Regions from separate parts of the Homo sapiens genome. Here region 2 is linked to region 1. The links are contacts of gene promoters, found by promoter capture Hi-C in human tissues and cell types (Jung and others, 2019). All regions are on one chromosome and are shown on one strand. The core of a region is centred on a gene start or on the middle of the fragment in contact, and the rest is flanking DNA. Distances in the headings are between cores, read along the strand shown.

Evidence for each region. The method cuts DNA at HindIII sites, captures the fragments that hold promoters and counts their contacts. A contact is called where the count stands out against the background at its distance.
Region 2: a fragment that was not itself captured here is called in contact with the fragment with the promoter of ELAVL1 in region 1 in 1 of the 25 tissues and cell types used here (dorsolateral prefrontal cortex).

The regions. Positions count from the first base shown.
Region 1 is chr19:8,003,678-8,008,419 of GRCh38, forward strand. ELAVL1 (ELAV like RNA binding protein 1) reads right to left here and starts at 1,964. Exons shown (of 6, transcript NM_001419.3): 1 at 1,818-1,964. It overlaps LOC105372266 (a long non-coding RNA gene), which reads left to right and starts at 2,136. Exons shown (of 4, transcript XR_936302.2): 1 at 2,136-2,281; 2 at 4,616-4,742. RefSeq lists silencers at 1,340-1,389, 1,420-1,619, 1,850-2,339. The HindIII fragment of the contact is 8,326 bases long and covers 1-4,742 here.
Region 2 is chr19:8,594,661-8,599,419 of GRCh38, forward strand. It overlaps ADAMTS10 (ADAM metallopeptidase with thrombospondin type 1 motif 10), which reads right to left. Exons shown (of 26, transcript NM_030957.4): 7 at 2,574-2,657; 8 at 2,327-2,472; 9 at 1,882-1,925; 10 at 1,647-1,752; 11 at 1,413-1,559; 12 at 1,102-1,243. Among named protein-coding and RNA genes, the nearest start is that of ADAMTS10, 14 kb to the right of the region's middle. The HindIII fragment of the contact is 8,071 bases long and covers 1-4,759 here.

The DNA of each region.
Region 1 (4,742 bases), core at 714-3,213:
TGAGACTCCGTCTCAAAAAAAAAAAAAAAAAAGAAATAGCACCATGATCTCAGACTCAACACATCCAGACTGAAACTCTGTCTGCTCAAAACCAATGCATCAACATAAACAGTATTATTTCCTTCCACATTTGAGACGTTCGTGTATCTCAACCTCTTTGTGGGCCTCGAAGTTGCAGAATTTGATAATAGATCCCAGCACAGAACTTTGCACACAGAAAATATTCGATGACAACTGGAGTGCCCTGGAGCCTTGTGATTATAGGAGCAGTACAATCGAGTGGTTAAGAGTAAGGGTTTTGAATCAGAGGGCCCGAGTTCAAACCCTGGCGCAGCCACTTTAGTGCATGAGACTGGTCACATCAAGTGACCCATCTAAGCCTCAGTTTCTTCATCTCTAAAATGGAAATTAATGGAAATTATAACATCACCTGCCTCAAGGACTGCAGACAAACGTCCACAAAGTGTCAAGCACATAGTAAATCCTCAATAAATACTGGTGGCTATGTACAACATCATTTATTCAGTGCCTACCAGGCACAGACCACGCACAACGCAACGGGATTTCCACCCTCTTCAATTTGCACCACACTTTTGTCCTTCCCATTTTATAGATAAGAAAACTAAGGCTCAACAGAGTCAAGCTTGTTCGAGGTCTTGGGAGCATCTCCCAGGGCATTAGAACTTTTGGAGGAAGAGCATTTAGTTCAGTAATGGTTCTCACCTGTGCGTGTGAGAGTGGAAGAGACCCCTCCCCCGCAACCCGAGCCATCTGGCAATGTTTGGAGATACTTTTGATCCTCACGACTTGGAGCATGGGGATACTGCTGGCATCTAGTGGGTAGAGGCCAGGAATACGGCTCAACTTCCTACATTGCACAGGGAAGCCCCCACTACCACCACAACCAAAAACTATCTGACCCCAAACATCAGTAGGGCCAACGTCGAGAAACCCTGCTCTAGACAGATCATTCTCCTCATCTTCCCATTTCTGGCCATCCGGATCTTAGATGAACACTTTCTAGCAAGGGGGCTCAGTCCCACCACGGGAAGCCCATGCAGAAGTTGTGCAGAAGTTCTTCTCCACCTGCCCTGCACACAGTAGGGACCAAAACCCATTTTAACAAGCCCCGCAGCCCAGAGCACCGGAAAAGGAAGGAAGGGCATCCATCCCCCATTGTTCAACTGTGTGCAGCTTGTGTTTCCAACAGGCACACACACATATTTTACAAATCCTAACGTCCCACGCCCCACAAACAGCTTTGTTAGAGATGGCGCTCAAAAAAAGATGCAGTTTAGATTTTTTTTTTCCCCCAGGACTCCCGTGTATCTACTGAAGGGTTTGCACACTTCTCAAAGGACCTCGCACCGGCCGCGGTGCTCTGACAACGACCACAAAAGAATCTGTGGGATTTCCCGGGGGAGCAAGCCCGTGGGCCGTGACCTCTGCGCGCTCAAAGCGTTCCCGGCGCTCCCCCGTAGCTGGCCCCACTCTCCCGCCCCCGGAGCCCGGGCTTCCAAGGCGACCGGGGCCCCCGGCCGTGCAGCCCGGCCCCCCGGCGCATGCCCACGCCGTATCCCCCTCGCCCGTCCCTCGAGGCGCCAGAGGAATCCGGCCCCGGGGCCTGTAGCCGGCGCCCACACCGGCCCGCCCCGACCCGCCCGCCGCGGCCCCAGCGCGCGTCCCCTCCCCCGGTCCGGCGCGGCCTGGGCCTCGGCCGGTGCAGGCCCGCGGGCGCCCCGCGGCCAGGCCAGGCGAGCTCAGGCCTGCCGCGGCCTACCCCGTCGGGCGCCGCCGAAGGCCCCCCACCGCCTCACCTGGATGCGGGCGGGCGGGCCCGGGGCTGCTCCGGGGCGGGCGGGAGGCGGCGGCGGCGCGGCGCTAACGGCTCCGCTCGGCCTCGGTAGCGGTGGCGGCGGTGGCGGCGACGGCGACGGCGGCAGCGGCTCCTCCTCAGCGCGCACGACCCGCTCCGGCCCGCGGCCCGGACACGCCCCCCCCGCGCGCGAGCCCATTGGCCGACGTCCGCCACGGCGCGCTGCTCATTGGCCGGCGTAGCTGTCGCGGCGCTCCGGGGCGCGCGGGAGAGGCGGGACTTCCGGTCGGCGCCGCCTGCGAAGTGCTCCGCGGCCGGCGGAGACGCGGGCAGCCAGCGATGGCCGCGGAGGGGGCGAACTGGGTTCCGGCCCTCGGAGGCTGACGGAAGGCGGTGGCTGAGGAGCGGCGCCTCTGGTTGAGCGCTCGCCGTGTGTCCCGCACCTGTCTGTCCTGCCGCCGCCCGGTAAGGTAGGAAAGGTCAGCGCGCCGGGGTTACGGGTACAGAACCTGGGTTCGAATCCCGGCCCCGACGTTTCCGCACTACGTGCCGTTGGGCAGGAGCTGACGTCACCTTGCCGGGCCTCAGTTTCCTTCTCTGGTGCGCTGAGGAGGCGGGGCATGGAACGTGGTCAGCGCTTCATCGGTGCTGGCTCTTTGAGCAAGCCAGTTCCCGAAGGCTCAGCATCTCATTCATTCATTAAAATGTCATTGAGCGCCTACTGTGTGTCAATCACTGTATGGGCAGTGAGCAGAAAAAAAATACCTGGTCTTATTGGGCTAACATTCTAAACCAGCGCTGGCCTAGAATGCCCTAGTAGAAATACATGCAAGCTACATGTTTAATTTTTTTTTATGTAAAGATGGGCTCTGGTTCTGTTGCCCAGGCTGGTCTCGAACTCCTGGACTCAAGCGATTCTCCTGCCTCCGCCTCCCAAAGAGCTGGGATTACAGGCATGCCTGCACTCTGCCTAATTTTTTCTTTTTTTTTTTTATGATCTGAAAATAATAGTCTTTTTATTTTTATTTATTTATTTATTTATTTGAGACGGAGACTCGCTCTGTCGCCAGGCTGGAGTGCAGTGGCGTGATCTCCGCTCACTGCAACCTCCGCTTCCCAGGTTCAAGCGATTCTCCTGCCTCAGCCTCCTAAGTAGTTGGGCCTACAGGCGCTGCGCCACCACAACCAGCTAATTTTTGTATTTTTAGTAGAGACGGGGTTTCACCGTGTTGGCCATGATGATCTGTATCTCTTGACCTCGTGATCTGCCCGCCTCAGCCTCCCAAAGTGCTGGGATTACAGGCTTGAGCCACTGCGCCTGGCCTACAATTTTGTTTTTCTTTTTTTTTTTTTTTTTTTGAGACAGGATCTCACTCTGTCACCCAATTTGGAGTGCGGTGGTATGATCACAGCTAACTGCAGCCTCAACTTCCCCAGCTCAGGCAATCAATCCTCCGGCTTCAGATTCCTGAGTAGCTTAGACTACAGGATGTGCCACTATGCCTGGCTAATGTTTTATTTTTTTGTAGCGATGAGGTCTTGCTGTATTGCCTAGGCTGGTCTCAAACTTCTAGACTTAAGTGATCCTCCTGCTTTGGCCTCCCAAAGTGTTGGGATTACAGGCGGGAGCCACGGTGCCCAGCCTGTTTCTTTTTTTAATCATATTTTCTTAGAAGTTTTTTTTTTTTTTTTTTTTTTTTTTGGAGACAGGGTCTCACTCTGCTGTGCAGGCTGGAATGCAGTGGTGTGATCTCAGCTCACTGCAACCTCTGCCTCCCTATTCAAGTGATTCTCGTGCCTCAGCCTCCCAAGTAGCTGGGATCACAGGCGTGCAACATCACACCCAGCTAATTCTTGTGGTTTTAGTAGAGATGGGGTTTTGCCATGTTGGCCAGGCTGGTCTCAAACTCCTGGCCTCAAGTGATCCACCCACCTCGGCCTCCCAAAGTGCTGGGATTACAGGCATGAGCCACCACCCGGCCTAGGAAAGCTTTTTAGAGATTGGGTCTCACTGTGTTGCCCAGGCTGGAGTGCAGTGGCTGTTCACAGGTGCAATCATCCCACAGGTTTAACTCCTGACCTCAAGCAGTCCTTCTGCCTCAGGCTCCCAAGTAGCTGGGATTATAGGCACGTGCCACCACACCTAGCTCAATTAAATGTTAAATTTAACATTTAATTGTTAAATTTTATAGTAGCCAGCATTCTGGGTCATCACGGTGCAATAGAAGTATAAACAAAGCAGGCCAGGCACAGTAGGTCACGCCTGTAATCCCAGCACTTTGGGAGGCCGAGGCGGGCAGATCACCAGGTCAGTAGTTCGAGACCAGCCTGGCCAACATGTTGAAACCCCAGTCTCTACTAAAAATACAAAAATTAGCTGGACGTGGTGGCAGGAGCCTGTAATCCCAGCTACTCGGGAGGCTGAGGCAGGAGAATCGCTTGAAACTGGAAAGTGGAGGTTGCAGTGAGCCGAGATCCCGCCACTGCACTCCAGCCTAGGTGAAAGAGGGAAATTACATCTCAAAAAAACAGTATAAGCAAGCCACAGATTTGTCAGCGAGGTATGTAATTTAAATTGGTACATTGTTAGCCATGTTTAAAAATAAGTAAAAAGAAACGGGTGATGTTAGTTGTAATGTGTTTTATTTAACTCAGTAGGTTGAATATGTTATTATTTAAACATGTAGTCAATATTTTAAAATACAGGATGTTTTGCATCTGTTATCTTTCCAAAATAGAAGATACTTTGTGTCCTTTTTCTTTCCTGCATGCTTTTTTTTTCTTATTTTTTTGAGACAGAGTCTCACTCTGTTGCCAAGGCTGGAGTGCAGTGGCGGGATCTCGGCTAACTGCAACCTCCCCATCCCGGGTTCAAGCGATTCTCCTGCCTCAGCCTCCCGAGTAGCTGCGATTACAGACATTTGCC
Region 2 (4,759 bases), core at 266-2,765, 590 kb after region 1:
ATGCTATGGCTCAGTCCCTTCCTCTGTAACGTGGGGGCTAGCAGGATTGTCAGGAGTTTAGATGGTGACACACAGCACATGCTTAGCCCATAGTGAGAGCTCAGTAAATGTCAGACACCATGATCATTGTTAGGATACCTGGGTCACAGCAGATGTTGAGGAGTAGCTTCAGAATTCTTTAGGAATTCCTTAGAGGGTGCTGCAGTTACCAGCTAAGTTAGGATGTTGGGGGGTGTCAAGGGTGGAATGTCAGTGAAATAGAAATTGTTCCAGGGTTTGTCTCTGTCTTGCAGTGGAATGAAGGGAGGGCAATTTGGCAGCTGCTTGCCCTCTGCTTTGCATTAACATGGCATCACAAAAACTCTGATCGTTTGAGTTGTGATAGTGTGAAGAACTGGGGCTGAACCTGGGCCCCTAGGGCTGAGACTGTGAGGAGCTTAGGGGTGCATTTAGGGAATCGAGGCAGGTGGGCAGAGGAGGAGCAGATCCTGGCTGAACCTTGGTGGCTGAAGCAGGAAGCCAGCAGGTCTTCAGCTTCCTGGGGGGAGCTGGGAGTGGAACCTCCTGCCCCCCAATGCCCTTCTCTATGCACGAATGGGGCTTTGGGAATCTAAACCTCAGGAAAGGGTGGGGAGAGGTCAGGAGGCTCAGAGCTCCTCCAGACAGGGAGTCCCTGGAAGGTTCTGTCTAGTTCTTTGCCAAGTAGGAAAGATGGCTCATCCCCAGGGAAATTATTTCCGTCAGGACTGGATGTTTAGTTAAAAACTGCCCCGTGAGAGGTCTTGAGACTTTGATCCTGCTGTAGCCCACAGGGGGTGTGATGTGCCAGACAGAAGCTGGCCCCCCAGCCCAGCCCTCAAATCAGGGGTCTGGAGAAGCAGGTGATCCCATTTTTGTTCCCAAGCACTGTCTGATTGCTTAGGACATTTTGCACACTCCATGCACCTCTGTCCTCCCAGGTCACCATGGGGGCTCACCTCACCCCCCTTCCCGGTTCTCCCACCCCCTCACTTCCCAGGTGGGTGCCCTGGTGGAGTTCCCTCCCCCAGCCCCAGCGGCCCCCTCCCCTCCCAGGAAGGAAAGCAGGAAGACTCTCTCTACCCCGTATTTACACTGACGCGATTTGACTCCATGCTGAAAGCGGCATTGCTCATCTGCATCGTAGGCTTGGCCCGGTGCCACTGTCGGGTACACAAAGTCCTGTCTGGGGGGCCGGTTGTTCAGGCAGAGCCCCAGGCCCGAGCTGCCTCGAGAGAAAAGCAACTGTCATGCTAGGTGGCTGCAAATCAAGAGCTCAGGAGCCTCAGCTGGATGGGGGTCCCAGGGAGCATCCCTGATTTCTATCGTCTCCCGTGTACCCTGCCCCACCATGAGTGTGACCCGCTCTGAGGGACACCCAGGTGCATCCTCACTCTAGAAAGCTGGTGATGTAGTCACGGCTGCAGGATGACCACACGAATGGGTTGGTCTTCATGGTAATGTGGGCAGCCATGAGCTTGGCTGGGTCCTGACCACGGGCCCCACAGCTGTTTCCCACGCCGTCATGGTTCATGCCGAATCTGGGGAAAGGGGTGTCGGCTCTGCCGGGCGCTGAGGGACCCGCCCAGCTCCTCCCCTCCTCCCCCTCTTGTGTGCCCTGGCCTCACGTGTGCCCGATCTCGTGGGCAATGGTGAACGCTGTGGCCAGGCCAATGTCCTCATTGACGCTGCAGCTTCTCTCGCGCTCACACATTCCGCCCACCGGGGCCAGGCCTGGGAAGACGGACATGTGGGGATGGGGCTGGGAGGCTCAGGACGGTGCTGGCTGGCCCCATCCACCTGCCAGGTCTCACCCCAGCCCACTGCCTTCATAGGCGCCTGAAACCTACGGGGCTCGGGTACCTAGTGTGCCGCAGGGTTTGTTCTTGTAGATGCAGATGTCATAGCTGTAAAAGGAGACAGGGTCAGTGAGGGGGCTGGGCTGTCTCCCTAAGCCCTGCTGATGCCACCATGCCCAGCTCTGGGGGTTGAGTCCTGCCTTGGAGGCGCCATCTGCCTCTCACCTGAAGCTGCATACAGGAGTGACTGACCACATGAATGAATGAATGCATGCATGCATGCATGAGTGGGAGAATAAGTGAATGAGGGCATCGGTGCCCAAATGGTCCCAAACCTCCCTTACCCATTATTCTCAAGCAGCCCCTCCCCATCCCTGGCTCCCTCATGGGCAGCCCAAACTTCTCTGCTCCTCCTGACCCTAGCAGAAGTGATCTCTGTTTGGACTCTCATGGTTCCCTGGACCATCTGTTTTCTCAGCCCCAGTCCTAGACCTCTCCTGTCCCCTCACCGTGTGATGAGCACTGCTGTGTCATGGTTAGCCACACCGTTCTCTGGAATGGCATTGCCATGGCCGCTGTGGTTCACGATGGATTTCTGCCACTTACAGAAGCTGTCCAGGGACTTCCCGGCATGGTGGGTGATCTCCAGAGTGGGCTGGGGATGGACAGAGGGAAATGCATGGGCACCCACCACCCAGGGGACGGCAGGACATGCTGGTATGAAGGGGAAGGGGAAGGGGAGGAAGTCCCCCGCACCTGGTCCTCCGTGAGCAGGATGAGGCGAGTTACGAGGATGTTAACGGTGCTTCCCAGACTCGAGTCCTGGAAAAGTTTGGCAACCTGACCTCCAAGAAACAAGAGAGACCGAGTCTTAAGAGGAGCCCAGGGTAGAAAATGAAAAGCAAAAACAATGATAACAGCTTGCTTTCATCAGGCACCTACTGTGTGTCGGGTCTTAGGCTAAACCTGCTATTAGGGTTTTTTGTTGCTGTTGTTGTTAAAGATGGGGGTCTTGGTATGTTGCTCAGGCTGGTCTTGAACTCCTGACCTCAAGTGATCCTCCTGCCTGGCCTCCCATAGGGCTGGGATTACAGGTGTGAGCCACCATGCCCAGCCATGTATCAGTCTTTTCATGAATAGGTAATATTTGCTGTTGTTACTATTTGTTGTTGTTGTTTTTTGAGATGGAGTCTCGCTCTGTTGCCCAGGCTGCAGTGCTGCGGTGCAATCTCAGCTCACTGTAACCTCCACTTCCCAGGTTCAAATGATTCTACTGCTTCAGCCTCCCAAGTAGCTGAGACTATAGGCGCACATCACTATGCCCACTTAATTTTTTTTTTTTTGAGACAGAGTTTTGCTCTTTTTGTCTAGGGTGGAGTACAATGGTGTGATCTCAGCTCACTGCAACCTCCGCCTCCTGGGTTCAAGCGATTCTCCTGCCTCAGCCTCCCGAGTAGCTGGGATTACAGGCGTGAGCCACCGTGCCCAGCCATGCCCGCCTAATTTTTGTATGTTTAGTAGAGACTGGGTTTCACCATGTTGGCCAGGCTGGTCTTGAACTCCTGACCTCAAGCGATCCTCCTGTCCTGGCCTGGCACAGTGCTGGGATCACAGGTGTGAGCCACCATGCCTGGCCATGCATCAGTCTTTTCATCAACAGGTGCTATTATCATCCCCAATTTACAGATGAGGAGACATGCAAACAGAGGTTAGGACACAGCTGGTAGGTGTCAGAAGTGAGACTCAAGTCTGGATTGCTTACCAGAACATTTCTTTCAGACTCCTCCAAGCTCAGCTTATCTACTTGTCCCCCAACCCCTGCTTACCCCCCTGACTGCCTCAAGCATCTTTGTCCAGAGGCGACCTGAGGGATATACATGTCTGAGTTCATTCCACAGCTGTCTGAAGGTACCAATTTGCCCATCACCACAGGAAAGTAAAACTGTGAGGGCAGGAGGCTCTGGAGACAGTGGTCAGAGGAAAGGAGGAAGCAGCCCCAGGGATGAGCTGGCACAGAAGACAGAGGCCAGGCTGTGCAGGGATCTTGGAACCCTGGGTAATCATTTCCCCGTCTGGAAATCCCCAGAATTTTTTTTTTTTTTTTTTTTTTTTTTTTGGAGATGGAGTCTCACTCTGTTACCCAGGCTGGAGTGCAGTGGCGCAATCTTGGCTCACTCACCTCCACCTCCCGGGTTCAAGCGATTCTCCAGCCTCAGCCTCCGGAGTAGCTGGGACTACAGGTGCCCGCCACCACGCCCAGCTGATTTTTGTATTTTTAGTAGGGACAGGATTTCACCATGTTGGCCAGGCTTGTTTCGAACTCCCGACCTCAGGTGATCCACCCGCCTCGGCCTCCCAAAGTGTTGGGATTACAGGCGTGAGCCACTGCACCGGGCTGGAAACCCCCAGGAAATTCTGAAAGCCCTAGGGAGAGAGGCCAGGCTCAGGCACAACTGAGGGCCATCAGAGACGACACTACACAACATTTTGGACCCTCTGCCTGTCTGCTAAACTTTTTGTTTTCCCTTTTGCTTCAGTGAAACAAGAGCACCATTCATCAAGCCCTTACTATGTGCCAAATAGCCTACCTGGCTTCCCTTCCACCAATCCTTACTCTCTAGGGTAGCTACCATTATATCTCCATTTGATACACTGGTACGCTGAGGCTTAGAGAGGTCAAGAATCTCGCCTGAGATCTAGGATGGAAATGGACTATATCTGAAGGTGGGTTGGGGAGGTCAGCCTGTAGGAATTTATAAGTAGGTGCTTGTGCAAGAATGCTGCGTGAATACGGATGTGTGCCTGTGTGTGTACTGCTAACCTCAACGAGTACCTGTGAGCTACCTATCTATCATCTATCTATCTATTTTGAGATGGAATTTCCCTCTTGTTGCCCAGGCTGGAGTGCAATGGTGCGATCTTGGCTCACTGCAACCTCTGCC